Linked DNA regions of Homo sapiens: regions 2 and 3 are each linked to region 1. Evidence: promoter capture Hi-C in human tissues and cell types (Jung and others, 2019). All regions are on one chromosome and are shown on one strand. Each heading gives the region's core, a stretch centred on a gene start or on the middle of the fragment in contact. The rest is flanking DNA. Distances are from core to core; before and after follow the strand shown. Region 1 holds the start of NPR2 (natriuretic peptide receptor 2). Region 2 holds the start of FAM221B (family with sequence similarity 221 member B). Region 3 overlaps TLN1 (talin 1).

What was found. The method cuts DNA at HindIII sites, captures the fragments that hold promoters and counts their contacts. A contact is called where the count stands out against the background at its distance.
Region 2: the fragment with the promoter of FAM221B here is called in contact with the fragment with the promoter of NPR2 in region 1 in 6 of the 25 tissues and cell types used here (IMR-90 fibroblasts, adrenal gland, bladder and 3 more).
Region 3: a fragment that was not itself captured here is called in contact with the fragment with the promoter of NPR2 in region 1 in 1 of the 25 tissues and cell types used here (neural progenitor cells).

The regions. Positions count from the first base shown.
Region 1 is chr9:35,790,141-35,792,840 of GRCh38, forward strand. NPR2 (natriuretic peptide receptor 2) reads left to right here and starts at 1,451. Exons shown (of 22, transcript NM_003995.4): 1 at 1,451-2,700. The coding sequence starts at 2,269. It also overlaps a transcript of RGP1 not described here. The HindIII fragment of the contact is 19,498 bases long and covers 1-2,700 here.
Region 2 is chr9:35,827,117-35,830,116 of GRCh38, forward strand. FAM221B (family with sequence similarity 221 member B) reads right to left here and starts at 1,616. Exons shown (of 7, transcript NM_001012446.4): 1 at 1,347-1,616. TMEM8B (transmembrane protein 8B) reads left to right here and starts at 2,112. Exons shown (of 13, transcript NM_001042590.4): 1 at 2,112-2,839. The coding sequence starts at 2,332. RefSeq lists a silencer at 1,969-2,418 and an enhancer at 2,704-3,000. The HindIII fragment of the contact is 23,285 bases long and covers 1-3,000 here.
Region 3 is chr9:35,727,592-35,730,466 of GRCh38, forward strand. All of the region lies in intron 1 of TLN1 (talin 1), which reads right to left. Among named protein-coding and RNA genes, the nearest start is that of TLN1, 3.2 kb to the right of the region's middle. RefSeq lists enhancers at 1-316, 2,712-2,771. The HindIII fragment of the contact is 3,260 bases long and covers 1-2,875 here.

The DNA of each region.
Region 1 (2,700 bases), core at 201-2,700:
TTTTGCCTTGGCCAGATAGGACAAAATTCCTTTTCACTGCAGTATTGGGAGCCTGGAACTAGAGTTACCAACCCCTCTGCGTTAAAGAAGGAGCTGTCCTGAGGCTTCCATCTCTACTGGGCTTGAGGCAAGAACATTGTTAGGGACGGCCTGCTCTTGGCCTCTGTGCCCCAGGGATTGCAAATGCATGTTCCTCAAAGGTAAGGGCTGTATCATTCGGCTTTCTTTGTATTCACAGGTACAGCTTGTGCTAGGCAGCCGGTGTTCAATAAATATCGTGCCTAAGGATAAAGTGGCATTGTCCTTAATTTCCCCCACCAAACCACTAGGTGTCGCCTTCATCTCAGGGAAACCATGCCCGTCCTCGCCCTATACACTCCCACCCCACTCCAGGGCTCCAGGAGCGCTCTTAGCTTGTGATTTCTGGAGAAATAGCTTGAAGGGGGGAGAGAAACCGTGGCTCTTAGCGCGGGCAGAGAATGGGCTTATGTGCATGTCCTTTATGACAGTTGGAGAAAAATCCCCAAGGTCCCATAGCAGTCCCTCTCAGCCACCATGAGATCATCCCTCACAAGCTGTTCTTGGGGTCAGATTGGCACTCCAGATATGAGGGCCCTAGGGAGAGCTTCCTAAGGGAAGCTGGGAGCAAGGTGGAACCCCAGGAGAGCGTGGATGGGCTTCCACTGCGGGGAGTGTCCCGCCGGTCCGTTACAGGCTTTCCCCAGGCGCCAGCCTGCGCTGTGCAGGAGACAAAAGAAAATCGAGGCCCTGACTGAGCAGATGGTGCGGAGGAAGCCGGGCGGGCTGCGGTGGGCCTCTGAGGACACGAGGAGGGCAGGGGGCATGGAGACAGCGGGGGGCCGAGAGTTGAGTCCCAAGCAAGAAGGAGCCTCGTGGACTTTCTAAGGACTGGTGGGAAGTGTACAGCAGGGGCCCCTGGCTGCTGGAGGGGCCCGTCCAGGGAGCGGGCATGGTCCGCGGTGGAGTAAGCCGCACTGCCGTCGGGAGGGCGCTATGGTTTGCTAGGTGAGGGGGCTGGTGAGGATACCACACGTCTGGGGATCCTCGACTGCTTCCTGGAGACTGGAACCACTGAGGGACTCAGGGAGTTCAGAGGGGAGACCCAAGAAGAACGGGCTGAGCGAGGGGGAGAGGACAAACCCTGGGGTCGCTGGCGTGTGTGAGATGGAAATGGAAGGAGGGGCGGCAGGGGGACCAGGGGCGTGGGGGAGACCAGGGTAGGCCCTGAGAGTGAGGGAGCGCCCGGGAACCCTGCTGGCCGGCGAGGCCTTGGTGCGGAGCCCCCAAGTGCTCACCGGGGTGGGTTTGGGACCTGGCGGTCCCGAGCGCCCGGGTGGGGGGTGGGGGAAGGCAGCCGGCGCCGGAGGGTGGGGCCGGGAGGGAGGAGGAGAGGCAGCGGGGGAGGGGCGGGGGCGGGCGGCCTGCCCGGGGGAGTCGCACTCGGCCGCCGGCGCAGCGAGCGGAGACGGGCCGGGCCGAGGCGACCTGACCCGGACGAGCGGCGCGCGCGGGGCCCAGGCGGGGGGCGGGAGGAAGCGCCGGGCAGCGCCGGCCGCCAGGGCCCAGGAGAAGCGGAGCAGAGAGGAGCGGGGACACGGGCGGGGCCGCCGTAGCTCCGGATGGGACCAGCGCCCGGGCCCGTTAGTCCAAGCAGGAGCTCCGGGAGAATCCTTCACAGGGAGATTTACCCCTGCCTTCCCCTGCCCTCCGGCCCAGGCCTCGCTTCGCTCCCCGCCTGCCCATGATCCCAGTCCTTCCGCGGCGCGGGCACCCTCCCACCTTACCCCCTTGGTCCTATGTGGCGCAGCGCCCTCCTGCCCTCCCGGCCCTTTCAGCTGTGAGGTTCCCCCAGGCCGTTTCTTTGTACCACCCGCCCCCCACCCCCACCCCATCCCAGTCCCAGATCCCCTTTTCCTTCTCAGCTTTAGATTTATCAGGCTTCTTCACCTCGCACTGTCCCCATCCTGGCCGCAGGCCCCCTCGGTCCCTCCCTCCCCCTGCCACCCCGTTCTCAGTCCTCAGTCCTTGCCCTAGGCTGGTAGCCCACTCCTTGCCCGCCCCCCGCCTTCCTCCCATCTCCCCCTCCTCTCCCCGGCCCCCAGCACCTTCTGCATCCCAGCCTACCTAGCCTACTCCTCCTCTTCCTGGCCCTCTTCCCCAGGCTCCAGGCTGGGGGGTGCTCGCGTCTCCCCTGTAGGCCAGAGCAGCCCCAAGTTCTGGGGGCGGTGGGGCTGCTGCTTTATCCCCATGGCGCTGCCATCACTTCTGCTGTTGGTGGCAGCCCTGGCAGGTGGGGTGCGTCCTCCCGGGGCGCGGAACCTGACGCTGGCGGTGGTGCTGCCAGAACACAACCTGAGCTATGCCTGGGCCTGGCCACGGGTGGGACCCGCTGTGGCACTAGCTGTGGAGGCTCTGGGCCGGGCACTGCCCGTGGACCTGCGGTTTGTCAGCTCCGAACTGGAAGGCGCCTGCTCTGAGTACCTGGCACCGCTGAGCGCTGTGGACCTCAAGCTGTACCATGACCCCGACCTGCTGTTAGGTCCCGGTTGCGTGTACCCTGCTGCCTCTGTGGCCCGCTTTGCCTCCCACTGGCGCCTTCCCCTGCTGACTGCGGGTGCTGTGGCCTCTGGTTTTTCGGCTAAGAATGACCATTATCGTACCCTGGTTCGCACTGGCCCC
Region 2 (3,000 bases), core at 366-2,865, 37 kb after region 1:
ATTTCTAACTGAGTGTTTCCACAGACAGCAAAACTGAACTTTGGGAATTATCCTAGTCTTTTCCTTTTCCCTTAGACTCCATCTTCAAATAGGCACCAATAACTCTATTTCCTATCTTCTAAATATTCCCCAAATGCATTCTCTCCTCTCCCTTCCAATTTTATTCAAGTTCTCATCATCTTCAGCCTTTGTGTAATAACTTTGCCCCTCTACTTCCATCCACAGCATTTTAATCCATTCACCCATTCTTTCATGGATTTATGTAACTTATACTTTTACAATGAGCCTAATCTGATGCTTTTACTGACCCGCTGTGCTAAGCTCTAGATTGAGTTGAGTCTAGGAGAGAGACCGATTAACCAACAATGGCAATACAAATAAATTGATGTTGTTCTGGGGTGAGTCTAGGATACGGTGGGGAGGGGGATATACCTAATTTATCCTGCAAGGATGTAGTCCTCCTTCCTGACCCAATCAGGATCTTTCTAAAGTGCAAGCCCAACAACTGGCACTTTGTGGCTTAAAAACATTCCATGACTCAGTCTAAAGGATTAAGTCCAAATTTCTTGGCCCTGGCATTCAAGGCCTGTCATCATTTTCAACACAGCCTGAGGATTCCTGCCTTAACTTTCCGTGCTCCCTACTTTACCCCCATGTTCCAGAGACGCTAGATATATCACTCCTTAAATGCATCAGAGCCTTTTTGAAGGGGATGTTTGGGAAGGGAATTAGGGGCAGAGGTAGGATTACAGGGAGGAAGATGACCAGAGTCAGCTAGAGAGAAAAGGGGCCTAAGAGTGGAGAACCAGAAGATGGGAGGTGAGGAAGGGGAAAGAGAAGGGGAGGAGGAAATTGGGTGGAGGAGGAGAGTAAGGATGAAAAGTACAGAATGTGGGCCAGGCATGGTGGCTCATGCCAGTAATCCCAGAATTTGGGAGGCCAAGGCGGGTGGATCACTTGAGGTCAGGAGTTCGAGACCAGCCTGGCCAACATGGTGAAACCCAGTCTCTACTAAAAATACAAAAATTAGCTGGGCATGGTGGCAGGCGCCTGTAGTCCCAGCTACTGGGGAGGCTGAAGCAAGCAAATCACTTGAACCTGGGAGGCGGAGGTTGCAGTGAGCCCAGATCGCACCACTGCACTCCAGCCTGGGGGACAGAGCGAGACTCTGTCTCAAACAACAACAACAACAACAACAACAACAACAACAACAACAACTACTACTACTACTACTACTACTACTACTACTACTACTACTACTACAACAATGTGAAGGGACTGAGGGGTGGGAGAAAGACAGATGTCTTTGAGGGAAGAGGGCAAGGGCCGTTGGAGAAACCACCTACCCTCTGGGCTTTGGCTTGGTTGTTACAAGTCCTTAGGTCAAGACCTTGACTTAGGATGGCAGGGGGAGGTGTTGATCCTCAGGGAGGAAAGGCTCTTGGTTGTGGATGTGCCTCAGCTGCAGGTGCTGAGTGTTGAAATGCCTTGCCTGAAAGTCTGCTATCTGGGAAGGGGACTTGGATATCTGCAGAACTTCGCAAAGGAGCTCTGGCATGACCTGGGGAAGTGGGTAGGGACAAGGGGTCTAGGGCCAATGAGGGAGGGTCTTGACTGAAGCCTCCGGAACCCGGGCCAGGAGAGTAGGCGCCGGTCACCAGGGCAACCGGAACGCCTAGTAGTCTCCGTGGCAACGGCGGTCTGGTCACCTCCCCGGTGGGTAAGGTCTCCTGAGGGGCTTGCATTGGGCCTCGAGGGGGCGAGCCCAGAGGGTTTACTTCTGAAAAGTGGGGTGTGTGTTGCGGGATCTCTGTGAGCGAGTGTTTGGGTAGGATCTGCGGAGATCTGTGCGTACGTCCGGGGGAGTCTGGGATTGTGAGGATAGGGTTCCTTTGAGACATCTGTGGGGCGGTCGTTGGGGGCTGTGAGGATCTGAGGGGACCTCGGGCTCTGTGCTTGGGGTGAGAAAGGCAGGGTCTCGGGTAGCTGAGGCGGGGGCGGAGTCTGTGTGTCCTCGAAGCCCAGCAGGACTAAGTTGGGGACCAATAGAGTAGGGCGGGGGCGGGCTTTACTGACAGGGACCAATCGAGCCGGCCGGGGGGCGGGGCGTCACGCCGACGTCAAGTCGAGGCCGCCGCCGCGGGGCCTGGTTATCGCCGGTTCAGCGCAGCCCGGAGTCGCCCAGGCCTGAACTCCTACCCAGGTCCCCGGCCCCCGCCCCGGGCCCGCGAGGACACCGGAGGCCACCCCCCGGGGGTGGGGAGCGGAGCCGCGGGCCAGCTCTGCGAGCGCCCCGCGCTGGCCTGTCCGGCCCCGCCCCCGCCCCGGGCCATGGCCCAGCCCTTGTCCCGGCCCCTCGTCCTATCCCAATCCCCGCCTTGGCCCCCAGCCCCGCCCTCGCCCCGCTTCCCACATCGGCCCCAGCCCCTGCCTGGGTCCCCATCCAGGACCCCCTTCCAGTCTCTGCCCCTGGCCTGGCCCCCATCCCGGCCTCGGCCCTCGTTCCACCCCCTGTCACAAATCCCAGCCCAGGCCCTGTCCCAGCCCCATTCCCAGTGTTTGCTTAAGGCCCTGGCTCAACCCCGTCCCTTGCTGCAGTCCCCATCACAGCCCTTCCTTCCATCCCACTCCCTGCCCTTGTTCAAGCCCCAGTGTCCAGCCCAGCCCAACCCATTATCTCAGCCTTTGCCCTCATCTCTGTGTTTACCCAAGTCTCTCCCTCTAGTCCCCCCTATCTCTCATACTCTGCCCCTCTCCCAGCCTAGACTCAAGTCTGGGTTTCAGCTGCCGCCAGCCCTATTGCTGCTGTTGCTGTTCTCTGTCCTTGGCCCAGGGGCTGGTGAGTGCAGAAGCAGGGAAGATTGAGGCAGGAATGGGGTTCCGGCAGGGAGGGGTGGGCTGGAGAGATTCAGGAGAGGTGGGACCTGGGGAACTAGATCATTGGGGAGCAAGTGGGAGAAATAGAGAGTAGAGAGGTCTTACACAACAGGGATTGGCAGG
Region 3 (2,875 bases), core at 41-2,540, 63 kb before region 1:
TTTGCCCAACCTTATTACTATCCGCTTGTGTCCCAGCTGGACAGACCTGGCTATGGGGTTGCTGACCATGAAAGAATGAGGGCTGGGCTGGTGGATCCGAGAAGCTGGAGGAGTCTGTGGAGCCAAGAAGCAGGACTGAAAGGACCCTTCACACTAAGCTGAAACTGCATGTCTCCCCCCATTTCCTCTGGACACTTAGACACCCCCTTCCTCCTCAAGCACGGAAGCCTCTGGTGAGACCCCGATAAGGGAGCTGAGTCATGCCTACCCTTACTCCCCAGCTGGTCCAGAGTGGATATTCACACAGCTACAAGAGGGTGTGTGGACGCGAAGAACTGATCAGTGAATTGTGGGTGGTGGTGGCAAAGAACAAGGCTGCTACAAGTATGAGTAGAAGCTAGCTCATTCCTCCTTTGGCCTGAGAACTTTGCTCCCTTTTCCATTGTGTTTGATGGAACAGCAACTCCCCACTGCCGTGTCCCCCTCCCAGGGAACTCCTCCTCCCTCAATACATTCCTGCGATGCATTCCAAAGAAGTTGGGCAATTGGAGGGGGGGAATGGAGGACAGGAGGTCAAATCCCAGCAAGGAATGGAATGTAAGAGTATTGGAGCTAAGAAAGTTGGGGTACTTGGAGAATATAGTCAGAGCAGATACCCACAAGGGGAATTGCAGAAAGATAGGGAGTTACAGACAGGAACAAAAGGAAAGAGCTTAAGACAGTCAGAATATAAGAGGGATGGGGGAGTAACACTCAGTCTGTTACCAAATTTGGCCTCTGAGTCCGCAACCGCTGGCAGTGGGGGAGGGCTGTGGGTGAGACTGACATATCCGGCCTCAGGCTGCTGGAGACTCATTTAGAGCTGGACTGGGCAGCTAGCTGAAGGGCTGCACAGAACTTCCCCCGGTACAGCCCCTCCATACTCAAATGCACACTCATTCTCCCCAGATGCACCCCAGCCTAGGCAGAGCTCTTTCCCACAAAGCTACCTTACTCTCTCTATACACACATTATCTCAATCACACAGCCCCCACACAGATCCCATCACGACTGCATTATCTTCTCCTAGGGAGCCCATCCTATGCACACAGCTTTTGCACAGATAACCTCCATAACAAGCACACCCGGCACCCAGTGTCTCTCCTCCCATTATGTAGACATTCTCCATTCACCCAGCAAGCATTCCTTGAGGGCCAGCTGTGGGGAAGACCCTGGGCCAAACTTTCAGTGGCTGGGGACCAAGATCAGTAAGACCTAGCCTTTGAGTTCAAAGGGCTCCCAGTCCACGAGATGAGTGAATAAGCCAAGTACAGAATCACAACGGAGGGCAGGATGTGGTAAGAGCCAAAAGGTGTGTGCTCAGAGAGATCCCTTTAGGTCAGGGAAGGGGAACCAAAAAGTCTCCATGATAAGTATCATTTGAAGCTAGAATTTTAAAAAATAGAGATAATAAAAAACAATAGTGATCTGCCATTTATTGACTATGTCACTTGCATTGTATACATAATTTCATTTAATCCTTACAGTAGGTGTCATTATTTCCATTTTTACAGATCAGAAAACAGACTCAAAGATGTTAAATACTTGTTCAAATACTTCTCCAAATAATAAGTTGTGAAGCCAGGATCCGAACCCAGGTTTCTGACTGCAAAGCCCAAGCTTTCTCCACTACGCCAGCCAGCTGGAGATGTGTCAGGGGTAGTTTTCACTCCAGGCAGAGAAATAGCATAAGCAAAGATGGAGAAGCAGTAAATCGTGGAGGAGCATTCAGGGAAGTGAGCAGGCAGGCTGTTGAAGCACAGGGGTACCTGCAAGGGAGCAGTGGTGGGGAAGTCAGGGTTAGGATGGAAAGGCAGAGGAAGACTGGAGAGGGGTATGAGGAATTTTACTTATTGGAGGACAAAAGGAAGCCAAGGGAGTCTTTGAGCAGAGAAGAGACATAACCGGAACTGGATTTTAGAAAAATAACTCTGGCAGTTACCTTGGAGATTAGTTAGAAGGACACTGTATTAGTACAAATTAAAGGTAATGAAGCCGGAGTTGGAATGGCATTGAGGAAGATGTCACTCAGAACAAGTTTGGGGAGGTAGAAATGACAGGACCTAATAACTACTAAGGTAGACAGGTTAGAGTCCCACAGCTTCCTATCATCAGCAGCCACTTTAGCGGCTGGGGCAGCTTGAGTTTAGGCGACGAATTGGGAAGAGGGGAAAGGATCAGGTTGGGCAGAGAATGTGAGGATGAGGCTGTGGTTACGGGATGTGGTTAGGCTGTGGGGAAAAAGGGTATGAGTATATGATTAGTAGCCACTAGGGGCAGATGGGGTTGGGTTAGTGACTGCATCAGGCTGGGAATGGGGAAGACAGGGTGTAGAAAAAGGATGAGAAGACAGGGTGTAGAAAAAGAATGCTGGTGATGATGGTGTTTGGAAAAATACATATACATAAGATACATATATGACCAGTCACTGCATCAGGTTGGGGGAAGGGGAATGATTACATGGATGGTGGCTAAGTCAGGGAATGATGGGGTGAGGTCAGAGGCCAGGTCAGGCTATAGGAGGTTGAGAAGAGCTGGGCCTGTGGTCAGTCACTAAATCAGACTGGGGTGGGGGTGGGAAAGTGAAGGGACATTGGCAATGTCTAAGTAAAGCTGGAGCTGGGATGGGGGATGGGGTACAGCCAGTGGCTGGGTCAGGCTGAGTAGAGGATAGTGCTGTGGTCAGTGGCAGGGTCAGGCTGGGAGTGAAGTGGGGGTGTGGTCAGTGGCCTGGCTGGGCGTGGGATCAGCAAGACCCAGTTTCCTCTTTGGGTCTCGTTTCCTCTTTTCTGTTGGGGAGTGGGGGAAGGGGATCTACAAATGGTCCAAGAAATTA